Linked DNA regions of Homo sapiens: regions 2 and 3 are each linked to region 1. Evidence: promoter capture Hi-C in 16 types of primary human blood cells and fetal thymus (Javierre and others, 2016). All regions are on one chromosome and are shown on one strand. Each heading gives the region's core, a stretch centred on a gene start or on the middle of the fragment in contact. The rest is flanking DNA. Distances are from core to core; before and after follow the strand shown.

Region 1 (4,012 bases), core at 1,238-3,737:
CAATTTCATACCATTACCTATCTACCAGAATGGCTAAGATTAAAAAGACAATACTAAACGTTAGCAAGGAGTTTAAGTTGGCAACCACTTTGGAAAACTATGTCCTACTTAAGCTGAACATAAGTAAGCCCTATGACCCAGTAATTCCATCCCTGGGAGTATATCAGTATATGTGTTCACATAAAGATATATATTATTGAGTTTGTAGGTACACTATTTATAATATAAAAGAGTGAAAATTACCCAAATGTTCATCAACAGCAGAATGGATAAGTAAATTGTAAAACATCCACAATGAAATACCATATTACAGTGAGAATAGATTAACTACATCTACACACAAACATAATGTTTAGCAAAAAATATGCAAGGTACTTCATTTGCATAAATACAAAACTAGATAAAGCAAATCTATACAAGATGGCAGGATAATGGTTACCCTTGGGGCAAGGGTGGTGACTAGATGAAGACAGGAGGAGGGCTTCTGGAATGTGGCAATGTCCTGTTCTTACGAGGATGCTAGTTGGTTGGGTGTGTTCAGTTTGCATTCTTCTATATGTATATCATACTTCAATAAAAGTTCAAGGAGAATCATCTCCGGGTGGATTGCAGAACTAAATGTGAAAAGCAAAACAATCGTCTAGTAGACCACATAGGAAAATATGATGGGGGTAAGGGAAGATTTCCTAAGGCACATGCACATGCACACACACCCAATCCACTAACCTAAAGAAAATAATTGAACTACATAAAACTTGGAAACTTCTCAGCCAGGCGAGGCGGCTCACGCCTGTAATCCCAGCACTGTGGGAGTCTGAGGCAGGTGGATCACTTGAGCTCAGGAGTTGGAGACCAGCCTGGGCCACATATCAAAACCTTGTCTCTACAAAAAATACAAAAGTTAGCCAGGCCTGTTGACCTGTGCCTATAGTCCCGGCTATTTGGGAGGCTGAGGTGGGAGGATCTCTTGAGCCTGAGAGGTCAAGGCTGCAGTGAGTCCTGATGGCACCACTGCACTCCGGCCTAGGTGACAGAGTGAGACCCTGTCTAAAAAAAAAAAAAAAAAAAAAAAAAAAAAATCTAATCATCAACACCATTAAGAGTGAAAAGGCAAGCCACAGAGTGTGTTCATATCCCTAATATATAAAGAAATTCCACAAATCAATAAGAAAAAAGGCAGACAACTCCATAAGGAAAAAAAAAAAATGAGCCAGGGACTCGAAAGAACACTTAACCAAGGAAGCTATCAGAATGGGCACCATACACATGAGAAGGTTCTCAGCTTCATTAGTTATTAGAGAAAAGCAAAGCAAAGCAGTAGTGCAATACCACCACACACCCATCAGAATAGCTGAAGTTATAGAGTTAAAATGCCAAGAAGGCTGAAGCTGGAAGCCATGAAAACCCTTACACACCGCTGGAGTGTGTATATTATTTCAGCCTCTTAGCATAACTGTTGGGCATTACTTATTGATGATAGATATACCCTATGTCCCAGCAGTCCCACTCCAGGACAAACTCATGCAAACGTGCATCAGAACCACGTACCAGAAAATTCATAGTAGCATTACTCAGAATAGCCCTAACTGAAAACAACTTTGATGTCTATCAACAGCAGAATAAGTAATTTATGGTATAATATATACAATGGAATTCTCTTCAGCAGCAAAAGCAAACAAACCATCTCTGTATGCAACCTGGATGGACTCCAGACATAATATAGACTCCATGAAACTAGGCCAAAAAAAAAAGCATACTGCATGATTCTATTTATAGCAAAAGCAAGCAAACCGAATTTGTAGTGTTGAGTTCGCGGTTGCCTTTTGGGAAAGAGGGAGGCTTTCAGAATAGCGGTGTTTTGGATCCCGGTGTCGGCTACGCAGCTGTGTTCACTCTGGTCATTAATCACTGTAAATTCCTGATATGCACACTTTTATGTATATCACATTTCATACATATGAATATTCAGAAGTCTAAAGGTCACAAGCTTAACCGCAAACCCTACCGTGCCCGAGGCCGGGCTGGACTTGCGGGGCGGTGGGGTTGTCCCGGCGACCTGCCCCAGGCGGGCCACCTAGCCCGGGATCTCACACTGTAGCCCGGAGCCAAGGCCCAGGCCCGGGGCGGGCACCTGAACTGCTGGACCCTTCACTGAACCCCACGGGTTCCCGCGACGGCTGGTGGAGGGAGGACAGTCACCGCTTCCCCTCCCACCTCGAGGTGCGCTAATGCATGAGAAAGTTCCCCTCGGGTGTTTCCACATTCGCCTTAACTTTTAAACACCAACGTCTGGAATCAGGGGTCCTCCAGACTCCGAAACACACCCTAGGAAACAACCCAGAACGAGACACATCCCCTGTGCGCGCGCCACGACTTCCGGCAAGAACGCCCCCGGAGGCGTGGCTCTTCGATTGCTTCGGCCTGGCGGTCGAGCTGCGCGCGCACTCGGCGGCTGCGATTGGTGCTGCCTGGCGGCGGGGCGCGGGGCACGCTGGGACGTCTCGCTGGCGGGAGGCCACGGGCTTTCCACAGCGCGGGGGAACGGGAGGCTGCAGGATGGTCAAGCTGACGGCGGAGCTGATCGAGCAGGCGGCGCAGTACACCAACGCGGTGCGCGACCGGGAGCTGGACCTCCGGGGTGAGTCCGGGGGCGTGGGCGGCCAGTCCCCAGGCGGCACCGAGCCGCCTTATTTTCCGCGCTTTGCCGCGTGCACCGAAGGCCGGAGCTTGGCCCGCGGGCCGGTTGTCTGGGCTCCGACCGGGCTGCGCAGGGAACGCCGGGCCTGATTCTTGCCGTTGTTGCCAGATGAGCATCCGGTTAAGCTCCTGGGAGCCTTCTGTTAGCGCCGTGCCTCTTGACAGGCACGGGTGACTTCATTACTTCCTGGTGCGTCCTCGTGGGGCCCTGTTAGGCCTTGCTTGGCTGTTTCGCCGCTGGCTGTTTGAGGGCCCGGAAGAGCGGCTCATTAATGGTTGTAACGCAAGTGCAGGGCGCGGGATTGGTTCTTAATACTTGCCGCCAGATGATATTTTGAGCGTAGATAGGATATGTGTTCATTATTCCTAATGTGAGGGAGGAAACTAAGTCCCCGAACAACCGCGATTGTTTCCTCCAGTATTTTCTACTTAGTAGCTTTAATTGTCTGGCGTTTCCCCTATATGAAGACGTTTTAAAAATTGAACTGTGTCACCCAGGCTTGCACCGCCGGGTGCTGTGTGTAAGTTGTGGAAGCGCTCGCAATTATTCAGATTCCTGTACTATTTCAACCTTAGCAAGACTTGGTAAGATACTGGGAGGGCAGCTAGCTAGTTGGCATTTCAGGAGACGGCTTTAAAAGGGACGTGATAGAGCAACTTCTCTGAGGATAAGACCATGCTGTCGTAGCCTGAGATTTGTTCCCATGGGGACCTATGGCCTCGGAGCAGCATCGCTGCGGGATCTGCTTAGATTTCTTGCCGACCTTTGGGAAATCCCACTGTTTTGTGTTGTGTTGTGTTGAGATGGAGTCTCGCTCTTTCCGCCCCAGCTGGAGCGCAGTGGCGTGATCTCGGCTCACTGCAACCGCCGCCTCCCCGGTTCAGGTGATTCCTGTGTCTCAAGCCTCCCGAGTAGCTGGGAATACAGGCATGCGCCACCACGCCCGGCTAATTTTTTGTATTTTTAGTAAAGACATGGTTTCTCCATGTTGGTCAGGCTGGTCTCGAACTCCCGACCTCAGGTGATCCGCCCGCCTTGGTCTCCCGAAGTGCTGGGATTACAGGCTTGAGCCACTGCGCCCGGCCCAACTCACCACTTTTGATGATCTCTGCCATTTCTCTTTATGGAGCATGTGCAGTGTTGAGAATACGTATTTTGATGCAGTACGTGTAGTACAGCTCTGAATTGTGTCCTTTAACTTTGGGTAAGTTCTTTTTTTAGTAGACCTTGCTTCTTCGGAATATTTCTTTTCTTATAGTGCCTAACACAATAATTATGCCCAAATTAGACAAATTAACATTTGAGTGTTCACAG
Region 2 (3,880 bases), core at 591-3,090, 680 kb after region 1:
TGTGACAGAGCAAGACTCCATCTCAAAATAAATAAATAAATAAAAAAGAAAAGAAACTATACTGTTTTGAAAGTAACAGGTACGGCTGAGGTGGGAGGACTGCTTGAGCCCAGGAGGTAGAGGCTGTGATGAGCTATGACTGTGCCACTGCACTGCAGCCTGGGTGACACAGGGAGACCCCGTGGGGGGTGGGGGGAGGCATGATGCATTCAAGCAACTTTATAATCCCACCATAACGCGGCCCATTTCCAGTATTTTTTGATAAAAGAAAAGATTGGTCTTGTCTCTGTAAAACTGAGGAACAATTACTTTAGATAACTGGTGTTAGTTTTCGCTTTCTTTCTTGACGGAAGCAAAACAGATATGGGTTCTACCCTCAAGAAGCTTTAGATGAATCAGAGATATAGACATAAAATAAAGAACTATAAAACAATTCATTACGCTTATGATAGCTGTAATAATAAAAAAGTACAGGGAACAATAATATCATATAACAGAGGGATAACATCACACAGGGAACAACAGTATCACATAGCAGGGATATATACAAGGATCCTAGGTAACCTGGTCTGGATATATACAAGGATCCCGGGTGACCCGGTCTGGCTGGTAAGAGGTTTCCCTGAGAAAACGATCAGTGAGAGCTGAGAGAGAAGCAGGCAGAGCAAGGTGATGGGGCAGGGGTGGGGAGAGAGCAGAAGCGTGACCCAAGAGGGTCCCAGGCCAAAACCTTTGCACTCAGTGACTCTGAAAGAATGCAGAGGGGCTGTGGCTCAAAGCTGCAGCTGGAAAGGTAAGAGGGGCCAGGCACTGCAGCACCATGTGGATCACACTATAAACTTTGAATATCATCCTAAGAGAAATGGGAAACCAATTATGGATTTTTAAAAGGAAATATTTTTATTTCCATTTTAACAGGTCACATTATTTGGAGACTGGTTGGGAGGGGGCAAGACTGGAGGCAGGGATGGAAGAGACCACTGTAGCAGTCCTGGTGAGGAATGTTTCCTGGCCCAAAAATGGGGTGGCATCTCCAGGGAAAGGAAGTGAAAAGCTCTGACAACTTTTTAGGAGGCAGAATCAATAAGACTTAGCAATCAGTCATATTAGAGGTAAGGAAAAGGTACCAAGGATGGTTTCTAGATTTCTGGCATGGCAATCAGAGGCTGTGGTGACACTTACTAGAATGAACACCGTGGTGAGAATGGACACAGCTTGTGCTGTGCTGGCGATGTCTATGAGCCATGAGAGTGCAGACATTAAACACATAGTTGGCTACACTGATCTAGAGGTCATAAGCCAGGACTACACTAAATACAGAGCATGCCTAAGCACCACAGGTGGCCATAAGCAAGTGGGCAGTAGGTGTTTGCTTCTACTAATTTTTCTAAGTTGGTTCATAATACACTGGGTGAAACACTTTCTGAATCTCTTATTCTACTAGGGAAAGGGTATCAGGTAAAAGGTGCTACATAAAAACAAATACAGGGCTTATCCAAAATATTTGTTGTTTTAAATAAAAACTCAGAAATGGAACCACACATATATGAAAACCTTATATCTGACCTAGTGCACAGTAATGAAGAAAGAAGGCATGATTTAGGCTGTCTTTATGGGAAAAAAGTGAAACTGTACCAGGCTACCTCATATACACCAAAGCCAATTCTGAACAGATTAAAAAGCTAAATACCATAAAACATTTTAGAAGAAAACAAAGGCAAATAATGACCCTGCAGTATACTTCCTAAACAAGACACCAAGGGCACAAACGATAAGGCTAAAGAAAACCATAATTCACCTACATTGAAATGTAGACTTCTGCCCGACAACAAAAACAAGAATGTGAAAAAACTACAGAAAGAGAGAAAACATTGCAAAATCTAACAAAGGAGAATATATAAACAATTCCAACAAATCAGTAAGACAAAAAGCCCAGTCTTGCAATGTTTGTTACTCATATGTCATTTTTTCCAAGAAAAAAAAAGAAAAAGAGAGGCAGGTATATCACACCAGGAAAGAGAAAAACCATCTGGTAAGTACATCACTAGCAAAGGCAGGTGAACAGGCACTATCCTGCCCGGTCAGTAAGGACATAAAATGATGACAATCTCTTCGGAGGACAACTTGCCAATATCCATAAAAAATGTTTTGACTTGGCAAATGCACTTCTAGGAGTTAGTCAAGAAATAAACTCTCACATAATGTAACACGATCATTCAAGGACATTCTCTGTAATGTTTCTAGTAGCAGAAAAATGAAAACTTACAATGTCCAACAATAAGAAGTGTAAATAAATTACATCCATACGATGGAATCTGAGACAGAGTCCTATGCAGATAAGGAACTATCACGAAATTAACTGTTATGTGAAAAAATCAAGAGGAGGAACAGAACATTTTAAAAAGGGAGCTGGCTACAAGGTAGAAAACGGAAAAATATTTCTGCCTACATGCATAGACTATCTCTGGATGGTACAAAAGAAACCGGTGAAAGAGATGGCCTCTAGAAGAAGAGTAAAGGACTGGGGCTAAAAGTTAGAGACTTGCCCTCACTGATCAGCTTTAAGTGGCTTTTTAACCATGTATGTATGCACTACCTTTTCAAAAAACAAAATCTCCTGCTGTGAAAATTCCAGCCATTCTCAAAAAATAAAAGAGAATAAACAAATGATAGTATATCCATACCTATCAATACTATATTCAGCAGCTGAAAAGAAGAGTGAATCAATATGTATTAATAGAACCAACAGAAGGTTTCTTTGGGGGTAATGACAATGTTTTAAAATTGACTTTGCTGATGAATATCCAACTCCATGAATATGCCGAAAGCCATTAACTGTACACTTTAAATGAGTGAATTCTGTGGCATGTGAATTACATCTCAATAAAGCTATTAAAATATATATAGATATACAGTCATATATACTACTTAACAACAGGGATACATTCTGAGGACTAGGTTGTTAGGTGATTTCGCTCTTGTGTGAACACCATAAAATGCACTCACACAAACCTAGACGGCACAGCGTACTACACACCCAGGTTATATATAGCTTACTGTTCTTAGGCCACAAGCCTGTACAGCATGTTACTGTACTGAATACTGGAGGCAACTGTAATACAATGGCATTTGTGTACCTAACCATAGAAAAGGTACAGTAAAACATGGTATTATAATTTTATGGGACCACCATTGTAAATGGGGTCCATGATTGAGCAAAATGTCCTTATGCTGCACGTAACTAGATACATACATATATACAGAGAGAAAGATTCAGAAACTATAGCCCAAGCTTGTCCAACCTGCAGCCCACGGTGGGCATGCAGCCCAGGACAGCTTTGAATACAGCCTAACACAAATTCATAAACTTTCTTAAAATATTATAAGACTTTTTTGCTTTTTTTTTTTTTTTTTTTGCTCATCAGCTGTTGTTAAGTGTTAGTGCATTTTATTCATGGCCCAAGACAATTCTTCTTCCAGTGTGGCCCAGGGAAGCCAAAAGACTGGATGCCCCTGCTACAGCCTCTAAGCCCCTCACTGGTTTTTTCTTTTTTTCCCCCCACCATTGGTTTTGATAAAGTTTTACTGGAACACAGCCACACCCATTAGTTTACATACTATCTGTGGCTGCTTCCAGGCTCCGACTGCAGAGCTGGGTAGTTACAAAGCCAGTACGGCACACAAAGCCTCTCATGTTTACTATCTGGCCTTTTACAGAACAAGTTTGCAGACTCCTGCTATTAAAAAGTCTTTAAGTCACACAGTTGTATAAAAAACAACAGTTGTAGAATTATACAGTCAGTATTATCATTGATGTTCAAAACCACACACAACATAATACGACAGAATTTTTCTTTCTTTCTTTCTTTCTTTTTTTTTT
Region 3 (3,695 bases), core at 577-3,076, 940 kb after region 1:
TTTCTTTCCTTCTGTCTTTTGTGTGTGTGTGTTTCTGTTTAGCTTCTGGACACTGGGACTTCCATTTCCTCTCTGATGGTGTCAGCAACACAATGCAAGCACCACATTCATTGTTTCCTAGGGAAGCTAAACAGTTCCATTCCTGGACCTATACCATGGGTGGGTAGAGAGGCTGCACACAGGGACCAACTAGCCATCTGGCTGCTCTTGCAGATGTACTTACCCTGCTCAGCCTACAGGTTGCTTTTGGGTGCCCTAAATTTTTTATAGCCACTTCTTGCACACCTCCATTAGATGAATGCTTTCATATAAATCTTTAACATGCCTTAGAATTAATTTTAGTTTGTGTTATGACTCTGTAGTTGTTAGCTATTGCTGCATAACAAATTAGTCCAAAACTTAGTGACTCAAAACACTAATAATAATTTATTTTCTCTTGTTTTTTTAACGGTCTGGAATTCAGCCAGGGTGGACACAGTGGGAAGGGCTTGTCTCTACTCATGGTGTTTGGGGCAGACTCAAAGGCTGGGGGCTGAAATCATCGGAAGGCCTGACTGAGGGTAGAGGATCTGCTTCCAAAATGACTCACTCACATGACAAATTAGTTGGTTCTGGCAAGTTGGCCTCCTTTCCAAGAAGTGCCTCTCCACACATGTGCTTCTCTGCAGGGTTGCTTGAGTGTCCTCATGACATGGCTGGTGGTTCCCAAAAAAGCAAGTGATCCAAGAGCAACATTCAGGAATAAGTTCAATCCTTTCTATGACCTAGCCTCAGAACTCACAAAGCATCACTCTCAATACGCCCTATTCATCAGAAGCCAGGCAGTAATTCCAGCACACTTTCTAGGCAGAGGAATTAGGTACACCTGTTGAAGGGAAGCAGGTCATAATTAGAGGATATATTTTTGAACCACCACAGAATCTAACTTAGGTTCGTACAAATATATAAACAGCTGTCCAATACCACATATTGAATAGTCTATCATTACTATATCAGTCTGAGCCATGACTATTTGCATTTACTAAGAATGTGTGTTATTACCATTGAAGACCTTCCAGTGGGACAAGATGTGAAAGCAGAAGACAGTGGTATTGATGATCCTGACCCTGTATAGGCCTAGGCTAATGTGTGTTTGTGTCTTAATATTTGACAAAAAGTTTAAAATGTAAAAAATAAACAACTTCAAAAGTAGGAAAAAAGCTTATAGAATAAGGATATGAAGAATGAAAATATTTTTGTATAGCTGTACAATGTGTTTGTGTATTCAAGCTGTTATTAAAAGAGTCAAAAAATTTAAAAATTCTTAAGGTAGAAAAGTTACAGTAAGCTAAAGTGAATATATTATTGAAGGAAAGAAAATTTTTAAAAATAAATTGAGTGTGGGCCTAGTGTACAGGGTTTTAAAGTCTACAGTAGTGTACAGTAATGTCCTAGGCCTTCGTATTTACTCACCACTCACTTACTGACTCACCCAGAGCAACTTTCAGTCCCGTAAGCTCCAAGCTTACGGTAGGTGCCCTAGGCAGGTGCACCAGTTTCAATCTTTCATACCATATTTTTACTGTATCTTTTCTATGTTTAGATACACAAATACTTACCATTGTGTTACAGTTGCCTACAGTGTTCAGTACCACACTGTACAGGTTTGTAGTCTAGAAGCACAGCCTACAGCCTGGGTGTGTAGTAGGCTGTGCTGTTTAGGTTTGGGTAAGTACACTCTATATTGTTTGCACAATGATGCAATTGCCTGACGATGCATTTCTCAGAACGTCTGCTCACTGTTACGCAACGGAGGACTGTGAATTGGGAGTTTATTTTGTTTTTCAGTCTGTACTGGCAGCGAATCATACATAGCTTAGTTTATCAGACAAGCTGCTTTTCTTGAGCAAAGAAAGAACTAGGAGAGAAACGGGGCTTTGGAACCCTGATGCGGCAATGCTGAAAGAGGAGAAATATCCCAAGGAAGGGAAAGGTGTGTTGCAGAACGATGAAAAATAGGCGGCTTCTCACAGCTGTTCTCAGGGGACGAGACGGGGTGGGATGCAGCTCCGCCGGTGCCTAACACTAAGGGCCCTCATCCTGCCGATTCAGTTGTGTCGGGACCGCCAGTGCTGTCTCCTCGTCAGATGCTGCTTCTGGTCTCCCCGCAGAAGATGCCACTGGAGTTGCCTTTTCAAGGATGGGGACATTTGAAGGCCCTGGACGCTCAGCTCTGAGGCTGGCTGGGATCTCACTAGCACCCCCTGGTGGAGGCCGGAGCCAGGCTGACGCGGGAAAGTGGGGCACGGAAGCGCTGCGGATTGGACCGGCGGCAGCTAGGCCGAAACGCCTGTATTTAAAGGGATAGTAACTCGGACTCGTTCTGCAATATCCCCACAAGGGCCTGACTGAGCGAGCGAGCATGGACGGCCGCGGGGCTTTCTGGACAGTGGCCATTCCCAGAGCCAGGCAGGAAGGCCTCGGGAGGCTGGGGCTCCCGTTCCCGGTGAAGCGGACGCCGCCAGCGCCCCAGAACCCAGGAGGAAGCACACAGGCCCCACAGAGAGTGGTTGGCAAGAGTCACTCGGGGATTAGGATGCCGGCCAAATCGCGGAATTTGAGGCTGGAATCCAAGCTCAACAGGAAAGTAGTGAAATACAAATGGGGAAAACAGGGCTCTGGAGCGGGGAGGGAGCTGGTGCCGGCATTTCCCACCAACGCCGGTTTAGGAAGACGGGACCGATGCCGGCCGCCCCCTGCTGGAGGGGATGTGGCATCTCACGGGCTGCCAGGGAGCGGGGTTGGCTACTCCTGCAACCAGCGTGAAGAGGGTCTCAGGGGAGGCTGTGGTGGGATCCCCCACGTGCCCTTGTTCCTCTCACCGTTACCTCTGGATGCCTCGGGGCAAAGGCCTTCTTCCACCTATAGACAGAGTCTACGCAGGGGTCTTGGAACCCGGGCACACCAGTCCCCAGCTAACGAAATCCCCGAGTTGGGGGATTTGAGAGGGTCACGTTTGGCCCAAGAACCCGCAGTCCTCTTTGGTCTTCGGCCCTCTATTTCTAAGCGTGGGCTTCTGGCACGGCGGCTCTGGGCACAGCCCATGCTGCTTTCGGGCTGGGTGGTTTCAACGACGACAACAATTATCACAGTGACGGTGACCTTCACCCCAACAGGACTGCTGTGTGTGAAGCACTCAAGAGGGCCCCTACAACCAACCTGCCAGGAGTCGGCTCCTGAAAACAGGGTCGGAAAAGGTCAGTGCCCATCAGAATCGAGCTGTCGGCAAAAAGCTGGAGAGGTTAGGAGCTTTGTCTATCTCAAGGGTAACAAACTGCTTTGACCCTGAGGGCTCTGAAGACGACTTTCCCTCACCGCAGCTCTCAAGACAACAGGGATCAGACTCAGAAAGACACTGCCTGTATAAGGCTCTTGTTTGTCTTGTTTTTAATTCCTGCCCTCTGCCTCCAGATCTCAGTCCTCTATCTGTGAAACGGAATTCGGCCTTGCCTGTCCACGAAATGAAGACAAGGCATCTCGTGTGTGTTAAGATGAAACAAGATCTTAGCAAGAGAGTAATGATTTCTTTTTTAAAACATTTTTTACTGTAGTAAAATGTACTATAACGTAAAATTACCATTTCAATCATTTGTAAGTTCAGTGGCATTAAGTACATTCACATTGTCGGGCAGCTGTCAGAGGTGTTCGAACCAGAG

What was found. The method cuts DNA at HindIII sites, captures the fragments that hold promoters and counts their contacts. A CHiCAGO score of 5 or more calls a contact.
Region 2: a contact is called between a fragment that was not itself captured here and the fragment with the promoter of SNRPA1 in region 1, in 1 of 17 cell types (erythroblasts). The highest score is 6.2, in erythroblasts.
Region 3: a contact is called between the fragment with the promoter of SPATA41 here and the fragment with the promoter of SNRPA1 in region 1, in 2 of 17 cell types (activated CD4 T cells and non-activated CD4 T cells). The highest score is 6.6, in activated CD4 T cells.

The regions. Positions count from the first base shown.
Region 1 is chr15:101,293,723-101,297,734 of GRCh38, reverse strand. SNRPA1 (small nuclear ribonucleoprotein polypeptide A') reads left to right here and starts at 2,487. Exons shown (of 9, transcript NM_003090.4): 1 at 2,487-2,638. The coding sequence starts at 2,557. It overlaps SNRPA1-DT (SNRPA1 divergent transcript), which reads right to left and starts at 2,387. Exons shown (of 2, transcript NR_186319.1): 1 at 2,006-2,387. RefSeq lists enhancers at 2,139-2,228, 2,289-2,338, 2,902-3,533 and a silencer at 2,569-2,758. The HindIII fragment of the contact is 2,362 bases long and covers 1,990-4,012 here.
Region 2 is chr15:100,614,279-100,618,158 of GRCh38, reverse strand. All of the region lies in intron 4 of ASB7 (ankyrin repeat and SOCS box containing 7), which reads right to left. Among named protein-coding and RNA genes, the nearest start is that of ASB7, 14 kb to the right of the region's middle. The HindIII fragment of the contact is 2,908 bases long and covers 387-3,294 here.
Region 3 is chr15:100,348,849-100,352,543 of GRCh38, reverse strand. It overlaps SPATA41 (spermatogenesis associated 41), which reads left to right and starts at 1,826. Exons shown (of 2, transcript NR_028139.1): 1 at 1,826-3,695. LOC105371021 (a long non-coding RNA gene) reads right to left here and starts at 2,938. Exons shown (of 3, transcript XR_007064777.1): 1 at 2,862-2,938; 2 at 1,599-2,169; 3 at 400-865. RefSeq lists an enhancer at 2,399-2,658. The HindIII fragment of the contact is 2,620 bases long and covers 1,506-3,695 here.